Linked DNA regions of Homo sapiens: region 1 is linked to region 2. The links are contacts of gene promoters, found by promoter capture Hi-C in blood cells and fetal thymus (Javierre and others, 2016). All regions are on one chromosome and are shown on one strand. The core of a region is centred on a gene start or on the middle of the fragment in contact, and the rest is flanking DNA. Distances in the headings are between cores, read along the strand shown.

The links. The method cuts DNA at HindIII sites, captures the fragments that hold promoters and counts their contacts. A CHiCAGO score of 5 or more calls a contact.
Region 1: a fragment that was not itself captured here is called in contact with the fragment with the promoter of EPG5 in region 2 in 1 of 17 cell types (neutrophils); the score reaches 6.0 in neutrophils.

Annotation. Positions count from the first base shown.
Region 1 is chr18:46,055,473-46,061,680 of GRCh38, reverse strand. All of the region lies in intron 1 of PSTPIP2 (proline-serine-threonine phosphatase interacting protein 2), which reads left to right. Among named protein-coding and RNA genes, the nearest start is that of PSTPIP2, 14 kb to the left of the region's middle. The HindIII fragment of the contact is 7,617 bases long and covers 1-5,750 here.
Region 2 is chr18:45,963,968-45,970,136 of GRCh38, reverse strand. It overlaps EPG5 (ectopic P-granules 5 autophagy tethering factor), which reads left to right and starts at 2,808. Exons shown (of 44, transcript NM_020964.3): 1 at 2,808-2,960. The coding sequence starts at 2,898. RefSeq lists an enhancer at 2,548-3,049. The HindIII fragment of the contact is 12,390 bases long and covers 1-5,978 here.

The sequences.
Region 1 (6,208 bases), core at 693-3,192, 92 kb before region 2:
TGTTGATTTGTCCTGTGGGCTGTCTGTCCCAAGCTCAGGTTTCCTCATCTACCTGTCCTATGTTAGGGCCTAACTATTTAATCAGCGTTCTTGTCTAGTTCCTGCCCATAAGAGTGGTTGACCTTTACTGTGACCAACCACAGCCCAGAGCCACTATCTTGGCTGGCAGGCCTCTCCCTGGCTGATACAGACTGGTATTGCTTTTCCCTGGGCAGCATGGGCAGGAAGTTTGTGGATAAGGGACCTTGATGCTCCTGCCAGGTCCTCCGAATCTCCATCTCATCTGCTTCCTTTGACTTAGAGCTATTGTTTCTCAGTGCGAAGCAGCCTCATTTTGGTCATGAACTTCATATATGATTTTTTTTTTTTTTTTTGGTGAAATGGAGTCTCGCTCCGTTGACCAGGCTGGAGTGCAGTGGTGCAATCTTGGCTCAGTGCAACCTCCGCCTCCCAGGTTCAAACGATTCTCCTGCCTCAGCCTCCTGAGTAGCTGGGATTACAGGCACGCACCACCATGCCTAGCTAATTGTTGTATTTTTAGTAGGGATGGGATTTCACCATGTTGGCCAGGTTGCTCTTGAACTCCTGACCTCAAGTGATCTGCCCATCTCGGCCTCCCGAAGTGCCGGGATTATAGGTGTGAGCTACCACACCCAGCCTCCTGTATGATTTTTTATTAATGTGCATCTATTGGTGCATTCCCTCTTATCTGCCAACCACTGACCATTTCATCTCTGCTGTTTTATACGTGTCATTGTCAATTAGTAATGTAATATTGATGTCAAGGATAGAGTACTATAGAGTACAAGGCACCTGCCTGTGAGCACATGGCCCTTCCCTGCAGAAACTAAGCAGAAAAGCCCAAGGCCAAAGGGCTCAGCAAGTTATTGTAGAAGCCTGTCTGCTCTCAGAGGGCAAAGAAACCAGTCCTCTGGGCGGAGCCTCACATGGGGAAGCTGGAAGCCTGGAAAGACCAGCACCCTCCCCTGCCATGTAAAGTTTGAGTGTACAAAGACTGCAGCCATTTAGAGGGAATTGTGATTGATTCTGAGAGAACAGAAAATGGAGAGGGCAAGGCCACCAGCCAATGGCAGCCACAGCTCTCCTACCTTTATTAGGAGTCATTTGGGGTCTACACGCTATTGTACTCAGACTAAATGAGTGACTTGTCCAGTGCCACCCAGCTAACCACTCTGGACTTGAGCTTCCTGTTGTGCAGTGAGGATAATGATATCTGGCAAGCCCAATTTTAGGACTACAATGTGTTTCAAATGATAAAGTACGTCATAGTTGTGTTAAGGAGGTGGAATTGTGGGTAATGTGTTAGTATATCCACAGACTAGTTTCTTTGCAGTTAAATTAATTTTTAAAAATTTAGATAATGAATGAAAATGATGAGTGGAAATCACTTTCAAAAATTTAAGGAATTGCAGTGAAATACCATAGTGAAATAGAGTCCCTAATCACTAAAAATTATGATTTAAAACAAGCACCAGGAAAGATATTTGAAATATAATAATATTATAAAGATATTTAAATGACGATTTAAAACAAACACCAGGAAAGACACTTGTAATATTAAGTTTAAAAGAAAGTTATTAAACAATTTGGAAAACAAGACCTCATTTTAATTTTATTTATTTATTTTTGAGACGGAGTTTCACTCTTGTTGCCCAGTCTGGAGTACAATGGTGCAATCTCAGCTCACTGCAACCTCTGCCTCCCCGGTTCAAGCAATTCTTCTGTCTCAGCCTCCCTAGTGGCTGGGATTACAGGCATGTGCCACCACGCCCGGGTAATTTTTTTTGTATTTTTATTAGAGACGGGGTTTCACCATGTTGGTCAGGCTGTCTCAAACTCCTGACCTCAGGTGATCCACCCGCCTTGGCCTCCCAAAGTGCTGGTATTGCAGGTGTGAGCCACCACGCCCAGCCTAGACCTCATTTTTATTAAACAAAAAATGAAGACAGTCATATGTCACTAGGAAAATATATGAGGATTACATAGCAAATATCAACTATTGTTTTCTCTGGAATTTTAGACACTTTGAAAAATATTATTTTCTTTTTTTTAATCTATACTTAAAAATTTTCAACAATAAAATAAGTATAACTTTTAAAATAAAGAAATAAGACCAGGCGCGGTGGCTCACGCCTGTAATCCCAGCACTTTGGGAAGCTGAGGCAGGCAGATCACTTGAGGTCAGGAGTTCCAGACCAGCCTGGCCAACAAGGTGAAACCATGTGTTTACTAAAAATACAAAAGTTAGCTGGGCGTGGTAGCAGGCACCTGTAATCCTAGCTACTTGGTAGGCTGAGGCAGGAGAATCACTTGACCCTGGAAGGCAGAGGTTGCAGTGAGCTGAGATCGTGCCACTCCATCCAGCCTGGGTGACAGAGTGAGACTCTGTCTTAAATTAAAAAAAAGACCTGCCTGGCCATCACGTTGAAACACTGTCTCCATTAAAAATATGAAAATTAGCTGGGCATGGTCGTGCGTGCCTGTAATCCCTGCTACTCAGGAGGCTGAGGCAGAAGAATCACTTGAACCTGGGAGGCGGAGGTTGCAGCGAGCCAAGATCGCACCATTGCACTCCAGCCTGGGCGACAGAGGGAGACCCTATCTCACAAAAAAAAAAGAAAAAGAAAAAAAGAAAAAAAAAGAATTAAGAGGATTTCCCCCTAAAGTATTAAAAGAAGAGCAAGTATACTTGTTCAGACCATAGAATACAAAAAATACCAAACCTGCAACTTGTACCCAAACCCAGATGGAAGTGGACCAGCCTCCCAGGCAGTGTCCAGGGTCCTAGGTCCTGGCCACCTGCCTGTGGCAAGGCCACAACCATTCCCTTGAGGACACAGAGGGTCCCACCCCGCTGGTGACAGGACCTGCCTAATGACAATTATCTTGCAGCGAGACCTCTCCTCAGCACCCCTGCCTTTAAGCAGAGAGAACCGCCTATGGATTCCATGAGCTATTTATTTTTCATTTTTATTGGTACCTTAAAAAACTAGGAATGTAGGGCCAGGTGCAGTGGCTCATGCATGTAATCCCAGCATTTTGGGAGGCCAAGGTGGGTGGATCACGAGGTCAGGAGTTTGAGACCAGCCTGGCCAACACGGTGAAACCCCGTCTCTACTACAAATACAAAAAATAAATAGCTGGGTGTGGTGGCGCACCCCTGTAGTCCCAGCTACTCAGGAGCCTGAGGCAGGAGAGTTGCTTGAACCCGGGAGGAGGAGGTGGCGCTGAGCCGAGATCGTGCTACTACACTCCAGCCTGGGCGACAGAGTGATACTCTGTCTCAAAAAAACAAAAAACAAAAAAAAACTAGGAATATAACACATGCTTATTGTAAAATATCAAAACAATACAGATGTATATGGAGTAAAAAACCATAAAAATCCCTCCCTTAGCCTTCAAATCCCAACCTCCAGGGGTAAATTACTCATAGAGGATCTTTTCAGAGTCTTTTCCAGGAGTCTCCCATCCTATACAGGTAGGCAAGTGTAATTGTCTACATGAGATGTTGAAGAAGTGTACTTATTATCATGCTAAGGAATGGCAGGTTAGCAAGCCATCTCTTCCTCTGACCCAGAGTTTTGTATTTTTTAAAAAACATAAAAGTAGAAATTTTACCTGGTTTTTAAGATTATGGGTGATTTTTTTTTTTTTTTTTTTTTGAGACGGAGTCTCACTCTGTCACCCAGGCTGGAGTGCAGTGGTGCGATCTCCGCTCACTGCAAGCTCCGCCTCCCGGGTTCACGCCATTCTCCTGCCTCAGCCTCCCGAGTAGCTGGGACTACAGGCGCCCGCCACCACGCCCGGCTAATTTTTTGTATTTTTTAGTAGAGACGGGGTTTCACCGTGTTAGCCAGGATGGTCTTGATCTCCTGACCTCACGATCCGCCTGCCTCGGCCTCCCAAAGTGCTGGGATTACAGGTGTGAGCCACCACGCCTGGCCTATGGGTGGTTTTTGATTTTTCTTTTTTGCTAATGTGTTCATCATAGAACAATGAGATATTCTGTAAATTAAGAAAAAATAGTTTTGGGCAGGCACAGTGGGGCACGCCTGTAATCCCAGTGCTTTGGGAGATGGAGGTGGGTGGATCACCTGAGGTCAGGAGTTTGAGACCAGCCTGGCCAACGTGGTGAAATCCCATCTCTACTAAAAATACAAAACAATTAGACAGGCGTGGTGGCGCTCGCCTGTAATCCTAGCTACTCTGGAGGCTGAGGCAGAAGAATCGCTTGAACCTGGGAGGTGGAGGTTGCAGTGAGCTGAGACTGCGCCATTGTACTCCAGCCTGGGTGACGACAGTGAAACTCTGCCTCAAAAAAAAAAAGAAAAAGAAAAGAAAAAATAGTTTTAAATGTCTCCCAAGAAAGGTGGTGGTTAAGTCATGTGCACCTTCATGTGACCAAGCAATCTTTTCTCTGAGGGAGGCCCCTGTGGAGGGAGGGAGGGGTCTCTGCTGAGTGGGACGCAGGCAGAGCCAGGGCTAGGCTGAGGCACTTGCCTTGCACGTAAAATTTAAGGGGGAGCCAAAAAAACCCTCAGTAGTTTTTTTCCTTTGAGATGGAGTCTTGTTCTGTCGCCCAGGCTGGAGTGCAATGCCCTGATCTCGGCTCACTGCAACCTCCGCCTCCCCGGTTCAAGCAGTTCTCCTGCCTCAGCCTCCCAAGTAGCTGGGATTACAGGTACCCACCACTGCACCCAGCTAATTTTTTTGTATTTTTAGTAGAGATGGAGTTTCACCATGTTGGCCAGGCTGGTCTTGAACTCCTGACCTCAAGTGATCTGCCCACCTTGGCCTCCCAAAGTGCTGGAATTACAGGTGTGAGCCACCGCATCTGGCCAAGATAAATTATTCTTTAATGTAATATTTTAAAAAAACAAAGTTAATGAGAAAAACCCTTCCAGGAACAAAATATCAAAACTTTATTTCTTTAGAGACAGGGTCTCACTCTTCTGCCCAGGCTGGAGTGCAGTGGTGCAACCATACCTCACTGCAGCTTTGAACTCTTTGGCTCAAGTGAGCCTCCTGCCTCAGCCCCCGGAGTAGCTGGGACCACAGGTGTGCACCACCATGCTCTGCTATTTTAAAAATTTCTTGTAGAGACAGAGTCTTGCTGTGTGGCCCAGACTAGTCTCAAACTCCTGGTCTCAAACTCCTGGCCCAAGCGATCCTCCCACCTTGGCCTCCCAAAGCACTAGGATTACAGGCATGAGCAACCACGCCTGGCCCCTCAAAATTGTAAAGAAAGACAGAATTGAACCCTGCACATGCACGACCATGCCTCATCCTAGTAGGGGCCCTGGAGGAGGGTGACGTTTTGGACCAATGAGTACTTTAAGGAAGCACAGGGCACAACAGAGGGAAGCATGGATTTGGGGTGGGCAGGGAAAGCCTGGAGAGGGGAGTTGGAGAACATAAGTGATGATCCATTTTGCAAAGGGAATTCCTACAGACTCCCAGACCAGCTAAGGGATCTACATTGCCGAGGGACCACCTGGACATAAGAAGCGAAGCCAGCACAGATTCCCCATCATCCCAGCCCCTGCAGGGCTGTGGAGCTGTGGGGAGCCCATCTCTGCTGTAGAGAGAGAAGGGAGAGGGCAAGTTTGTGCTTGGGGCTCCTATAGAAGCTGTCCTAGTGAGAAAATGCACCTGCAGTTCAGTTAGGTACTTACTAAACAAGAAAGATACAGTCTAAAAATACTCGGTTTTCCCGTGGAGTAGAAGCTTGTTTGCCTGCTTTCTCTACCTTTATTTTCCTAATCCTCTTTTAAAAGTGATTTTTCCAGTAGACAAATGAGAGTCTAAAAGTAAATTGTAAAAATATGGAGAACTTTTATACTTTACTACTAATAAAAAAGTCCAAATTGTACAGTTTTGCTTTTAGCAAGTTTTAAAAAGTATATCAAGTGTCAGTATCTTTCACTGGGGGAAGGTGCAGGAAATGAGCATTTAGTCATTGCGGGTAAGCTGTTAGAGTTATTTTGGAGAGGATTTGGCTGTGTGCATTATTAGCCTTAACAATCACAAATGTTGGCACTGGCTGGGCACAGTGGCTCATGCCTGTAACCCTAGCACTTTGGGAGGCCGAGGCAGGCAGCTCGCTTGAGCCTAGGAGTTTGAGACCAACCTGGGCAACATCATGAAACCTCAACGAAAAAAATACAAAATATTAGCTGGGCATGGT
Region 2 (6,169 bases), core at 1,559-4,058:
AGTTGTCTGGCTGGGACATGAAATCCTTGACTGCATATGTTCGGGAACTTTTCTGAGCCCCTGCTCCCATTGTCCCTTTTAAAATTGTTGCTGTGGCAACAGAGACTTCAAGTCTATATCCTTCAAAAGGAGTAGTTTCAAAACCACCTTCTCGGTTCAAATTATATCATTACCTAACTGATTGTTGCTTTACCTTTTGTTTGGATTCTACTGAACTTGAATTGTCTGGCTGTTGGCCTCACTTTCTGAAATTAATCCAACGACAGATAACTTCGTGATGGAAAATGTAGGTCTCCTTAGTAGTTAGCCCTCTGCCAGGTGACTTCGTTTCCACCTCCCCTTATATATTGTTCTTCCTTCCTCTCTAAATTCTCTAAATCTCTGCTTATACAGAGCAATCTGGCTCTCTCTGGCCTCTCCAGTCATCATACATCATACTCACATTCACCATCTTGAGAAGTGCAGTAAGCCACATAAATGCAGCAGAAGTACCTTATGCAGTCCTAGGAGGCTGTGGTTTTGAGTTGCTTTTTTTTTTTTTTTGGAGACGGAGCCTTGCTCTGTCACCCAGGCTGGAGTGCAGTGGCACGATCTTGGCTCACTGCAGCCTCCACCTCCTGGGTTCAAGCAATTCTCCTGCCTTGGCCTCCCAAGTAGCTGGGACAAGTAGCTGGGACTACAGGCGCACGCTGCCAGGCCTGGCTAATTTTTTGTATTTTAGTAGAGATGGGGTTTTACTGTGTTGCCCAGGCTGGTCTCGAACTCCTGAACTCAGGCAATCCGCCTGCCTCGGTCTCCCAAAATGCTAGGATTATAGGTGTGAACCACTGTGCCAGGCTGAGGTGCTTTTTAAAGAACCTTCATTTCTTTCCTCCTTCTCCTCTTTCTCCCATCCTCCCTGATTAACCTCTTTTTTGTGTGGAACTCACCCCTGCCCTGGTGTCATCCCTTCATTCAGTCTTTCCAATGTATGCCTCTTTTACCAGTTAGGCGATGATACACGTATCACAATGTATCTATGCATTGTGTCTGCTTCCCAACTAAACTGTAAAACATGCAAATTGAGAGTAGGGTCAGTTGTGTTTTGCTGACCAAGTAGTGGGTAGCACATAGAGAACTTTAAATGTCATAAATGACTTAAACTGGGAGAGGTCAGAGAGCAAGGGTATTCCAGACTGGGAGAAATATCAGCAAAAGTTATGGATAGTAATGGTGGTATAAAGATTTTGTTTATATTGGCCAACTCTTTGCAGGTGATAACTTTATATACATGCACACACACACACACACACACACACACACACACACACCAGGACATACAAAGTACATGTATATTCTGAGTAGCTTAATAATTTTTGTTGTTGAGGATTTGGGAACAAAATACACGAAATTGTATTATATACTCAATTAAAATATCATCACAAACAAGCAAACTGCATCTCTGAAGTCTTTTCCATTTTTCATGCCATATTGCTGGATTTTTTATTCTAGGGTATGCTACAGGTGGGTGGATGGTCTTTTTCCTCCCTCCCATACACTCCATTTCCTTTTCTTCTTTTTCTTTTCTTTTCTTTTTTTTGAGATGGGAGTTTCGCTCTTGTTGCCCAGGCTGGAGGGCAATGGTGCGATCTCGGCTCACTGCAACCTCCGCCTCCCAGGTTCAATTCTCCTGCCTCAGCCTCCCGAGTAGCTGGAATTACAGGCGTCCACCACCATGCCCGGCGACTTTTTTGTATTTTTAGTAGAGTTGGGGTTTCACCATGTTGCCCAGGCTGGTCTTGAACTCCTGACCTCAGGTGATCCACCCGCCTCGGCCTCCCAGAGTGCTGGGATTACAGGCGTGAGCCACTGCGCCTGGCCCACTCCATTTCAACGATCTTACCCCACCGCCAGACAAAACTCATACTCATTTGTGTGATTCACGAAATATTTATTTAGTATCTACTATGTGCTACTACGTGCAGTGTTCTAAAGACCCTTGGATACATCAGGCAACAAAATTAAGAACCCTGCCTTTGAGGATCTTACATTCTGGGAGGATTGACAGACACTAACAATAAGGATACAAGCAAATCACAGAAATCCTAGAGCTGGGAAGGGAAGATGTGGACAAGTTTTTCACATCTGGAAATTTCAAATGAAGCACACTGTAAAATGTATACTAAGAATACTTTTACGGATCTTATTTATCTTGTTACCTGTTTGCCTGTCCTTTTAGGAGCACATGTCTTTTTTCCAGTCTGGGAATTTGTACAGTAATGATAATTAATAACTACCATGTACCGACATGCCTGCCGCTACCAGGCACCTTTCTGGGAGAGCCCATTAAATTCTCATGACATCCGAAAAGGCAGGTGTGATCATTCCCCTTTACAAAAGAGGACGCCGAAGTGCACACCCCGATGGGCGTCAGGGTTTCTTCCTTGCGCGCAGTGCGGATTTAGGCTAACCGACTGGATCTGGTTTATCTGAAGATGAAAAAAAAGAATGGCAAACCCACTTTCCGGATTTCTTCAAGCCGACGCGGGTGAGGTGTGCGAGCGCGCCCGGGATCCGCACTGAGTGAGGTTCCGCAGAGCCGGGAGACGGAGGAGGTGGGTCAGCCTGGGTCGCTGCCCTTGTCCAGCGCAACCCAAGACACCTGCGCGCCGGGTGGAGCCAGGGCTAGGGGTGGGGCCTGGGCTCCGGGAAGGGGGCGGGCCTGCCTTCCTCCAGTGCAAATGCGTCCTGGAGTGGTTTGTCCTACGTTGCGGCCCGTAGAGGCGCCGACTCACCGCCTCTTCTCCGGGAGTGGCGGAGATTCGATCATGTGACAGTCCGGAGGCCAGAACCGGGCAGGTTGCTTGAAGCGCAGGGGTTTGACAAAAACAAACGGTGACGGCGCCGCGGAAGGGTCTATGGCCGAGGCGGTGAAGCCCCAGCGCCGGGCCAAGGCCAAGGCCAGCCGGACTAAAACAAAGGTGAGGATCTCCCCCACCCTCCCGAGGCTCTGGCAGTGTGCTGTGTCTCCTTGCTCCTCTCTTCGGCCTCCCCAGCCAATTCTACTCCCGTTCCCTGAGCCCTCTGCATCTTCCGCCTCCACCTTCCAATATTTGATCCCACCACCCGTTGACACCGGCCCTTCTCCTCCATTCCTTCTCCATATCCCCCTGCCACACTCTGTCAGGACCCCATTTTTCCTTCTCCCTCCTGTGACTTCACTGGCCTCTTCCTTTTCTGCTCTCTTGGCTTTCCTCACCTGGGTCTGGTTTCCTGCCGTGAAATAATTTTTCTCTTTCCAGCCCCATCGTTGACTCTCTCTTTACTCTTTTATATCCTAGAACATTTTTAGTCCCTGCCATGCATAAAGAGGGAATGTTCCCCTCCTCCACGCGGAGAAGGTACCTTTGGCAGAACTTTATAAGTAGACTAGTGCTGTGCCATTTCTGATCACTTTGAAAGTTCAAGATGATAGTAGTGCTGCCTCTGTTTATTTCTTATTGTCTTGATTGTTTATAAGGGGCATGAATGGCTAGAAATTAACCCAGGGCGGGACTCACACAGTAGGGAAGTGTTTGAATTTTCTGAGTTTCCTGTATTAGACTACATGTGGTATTAGAGTGATTTTAAGTTGATTTGTTTATAAGTGCAGTCTGGATTTTCATTTTATTATAGTACATATATACACATATATACATATGTACACATATATACATATATACGTACATATATACATATGTGTGTGTGTATATATATGTATATGTATTTTTTTTTTTTTTTTTGAGACAGAGTCTTGCTCTGTCGCCCAGGCCGGAGTGCAGTGGCGCGATCTCGGCTCACTGCAAGCTCCGCCTCCCAGGTTCACGCCATTCTCCTGCCTCAGCCTCCCTCCCGAGTAGCTGGGACTACAGGCGCCTGCCACCACGCCCGGCTAATTTTTTGTATTTTTAGTAGAGACGGGGTTTCACCGTGTTAGCCAGGATGGTCTCGATCTCCTGACCTCGTGATCCGCCCGCCTCGGCCTCCCAAAGTGCTGAGATTACAGGCGTGAGCCACCGCGCCCAGCCTATGTTTTGTTTTGTTTTTGTTTTTGTTTTGATATGGAGTCTCGCTCTGTCGTCCAGGCTGGAGTGCAATCTCGGCGGAGTGCAATCTCGGCTCACCGCAACCTCCGCCTCCCGGGTTCAAGCGACTCTCCTGCCTCAGCCTCCCGAGTAACTGGGATTACAGGCATGCGCCACCACACACGGCTAATTTTGTATTTTTAGTAGAGACGGGGTTTCTCCTTGTTGGTCAGGCTGGCCTCAAACTCCTGACCTCAGGTGATCCGCCCATCTTGGCCTCCCAAAGTGCCCGGATTACAGGCGTGAGCCACCGCGCCCACCCTATTTATATATATTTTCTAAGATGAACAGATTAAATGCTGCTCCCGCATGGCCAGACCTCATAATTTTGGCTTACCTGAAACAGAGTTTACATTTGGGAAATAAGGAGGATGGTATTACAAGTACAGGACATTTTTTTCCCCAGAAGTGGGTGATGTTCCAAAGCAGGTGTAATTTAAGCATGATACTGTAATCCGATTTTCTCATGGGAACAAGGTTTTAACAGGAGGGTAGTGTTCATAGGTACCATACTTAGTAGACTGTAGATGACTTATGTGGATTTCTTTCATTATGATGCTCTTTTTTTTTCTTTCCAACTTTTATTTTAGGTTTAGAGGGTACAAGTGGAGGTTTACTACATGGGCAAATGCACACCTTGGTGGTTTAGTGTGCAGATTATTTTGTCACCCAGGTAATGAGTATAGTGCTTGACAGGTGGTTTTTTTATCCTTCCCTTCTTCCCACCTTCTGCCCTCAAGTAGGCCCTGGTGTCTATTATTCCCTTCTTTGTGTCCATGTGTACTTAATGTTTAGCTCCCACTTATAAGTGAGAACGTGGTATTTGATTTTCTGTTTCTGCATTAATTTGCTTAGGATAATTACCTCTAACTGCATCCATGTTGCTGCAGGGGACACGATTTTGTTCTTTTTTATGGCTGCATAGTATTCCATGCTGAGTATTTACCACGTTTTCTTGATATGACTTTTTAAACGGCTGTAGTGGAGTTAGACACATTGGTGTATCCAGGTCTGTGAGGAGTTATTCTGGTGAGAAAGTCATTTTGGTACCAAATTTCAGGAATTTTATTTATTTATTTTGAGACAGAGTTTCGCTTTTGTTGCCCAGGCTGGAGTGCAGTGGCGCGATCTCTGCTCACCACAACGTCTGCCACCTGGCTTCAAGCAATTCTCCTGCCTCAGCCTCCCGAGTAGCTGGGATTACAGGCTGGGTAATTTTTGTATTGTTAGTGGAGATGAGGTTTCACCATGTTGGTCAGGCTGGTCTCGAACTCCAGACCCCAGGTGATCTGCCCACCTCGGCCTCCCACAGTGCTGGGATTACAGGCATGAGCCACCACACCCGGCTCAGAAATATTTTTAAAAGAAATGCTTTTGCATTGTATTGGGTTGGTAAAGAACTATCCAGGCCCAGGAGGAAGAAAAAAGCCATTGGCCAGCTATGCATAAGATCCCTAAACCTACTTAACGATGAGACTACAGGAAAAAAAAGAAAACATACCTATCCAGTGAAGAAAAAAAAAAATTCCTGAACCTATAATGCAGTAGTGCATAACACATAAATGTTAGTTGTCTATGAGAGCAGAATCTTAAGTCTTAATCTCTAGTTTTTTTCCCCCAAGATATTGATGAAACTAAAGCCTCCGGGGATTAAATATTGCTCAGTGTCATGCAGTTCGTGAGAGAACTCAGGTTAAAGCCAGAAATCCTGACTCTCAATCCAGGAACTTAATAGTTATTTCATGTATCTGTATGTCTTTTGTCTTTCCATAGATAGAATGTTACAGATGCTTTAAAAAGTCTGTTAAGGGGATTCCCTCTTAATTTATTTTGTTTAAAACAATTTCTAAATTAAAAAGTTAAAAATCTTAAGCTTTTAGATCCATCATGAAAAACCAATTGATTATATTTTTTATCCATCTTAGGCAACTTTCCTATACAAACATACATTAATTTTTTTTTGTTAAAGTTTATGAAGAGGCCTTTATTTCAGAGGCATTTGGGCAAACCAAAAATCCTTGACATCTACTTTTGCTCACCCTCCAAATCTGATCATTCACTAAGTC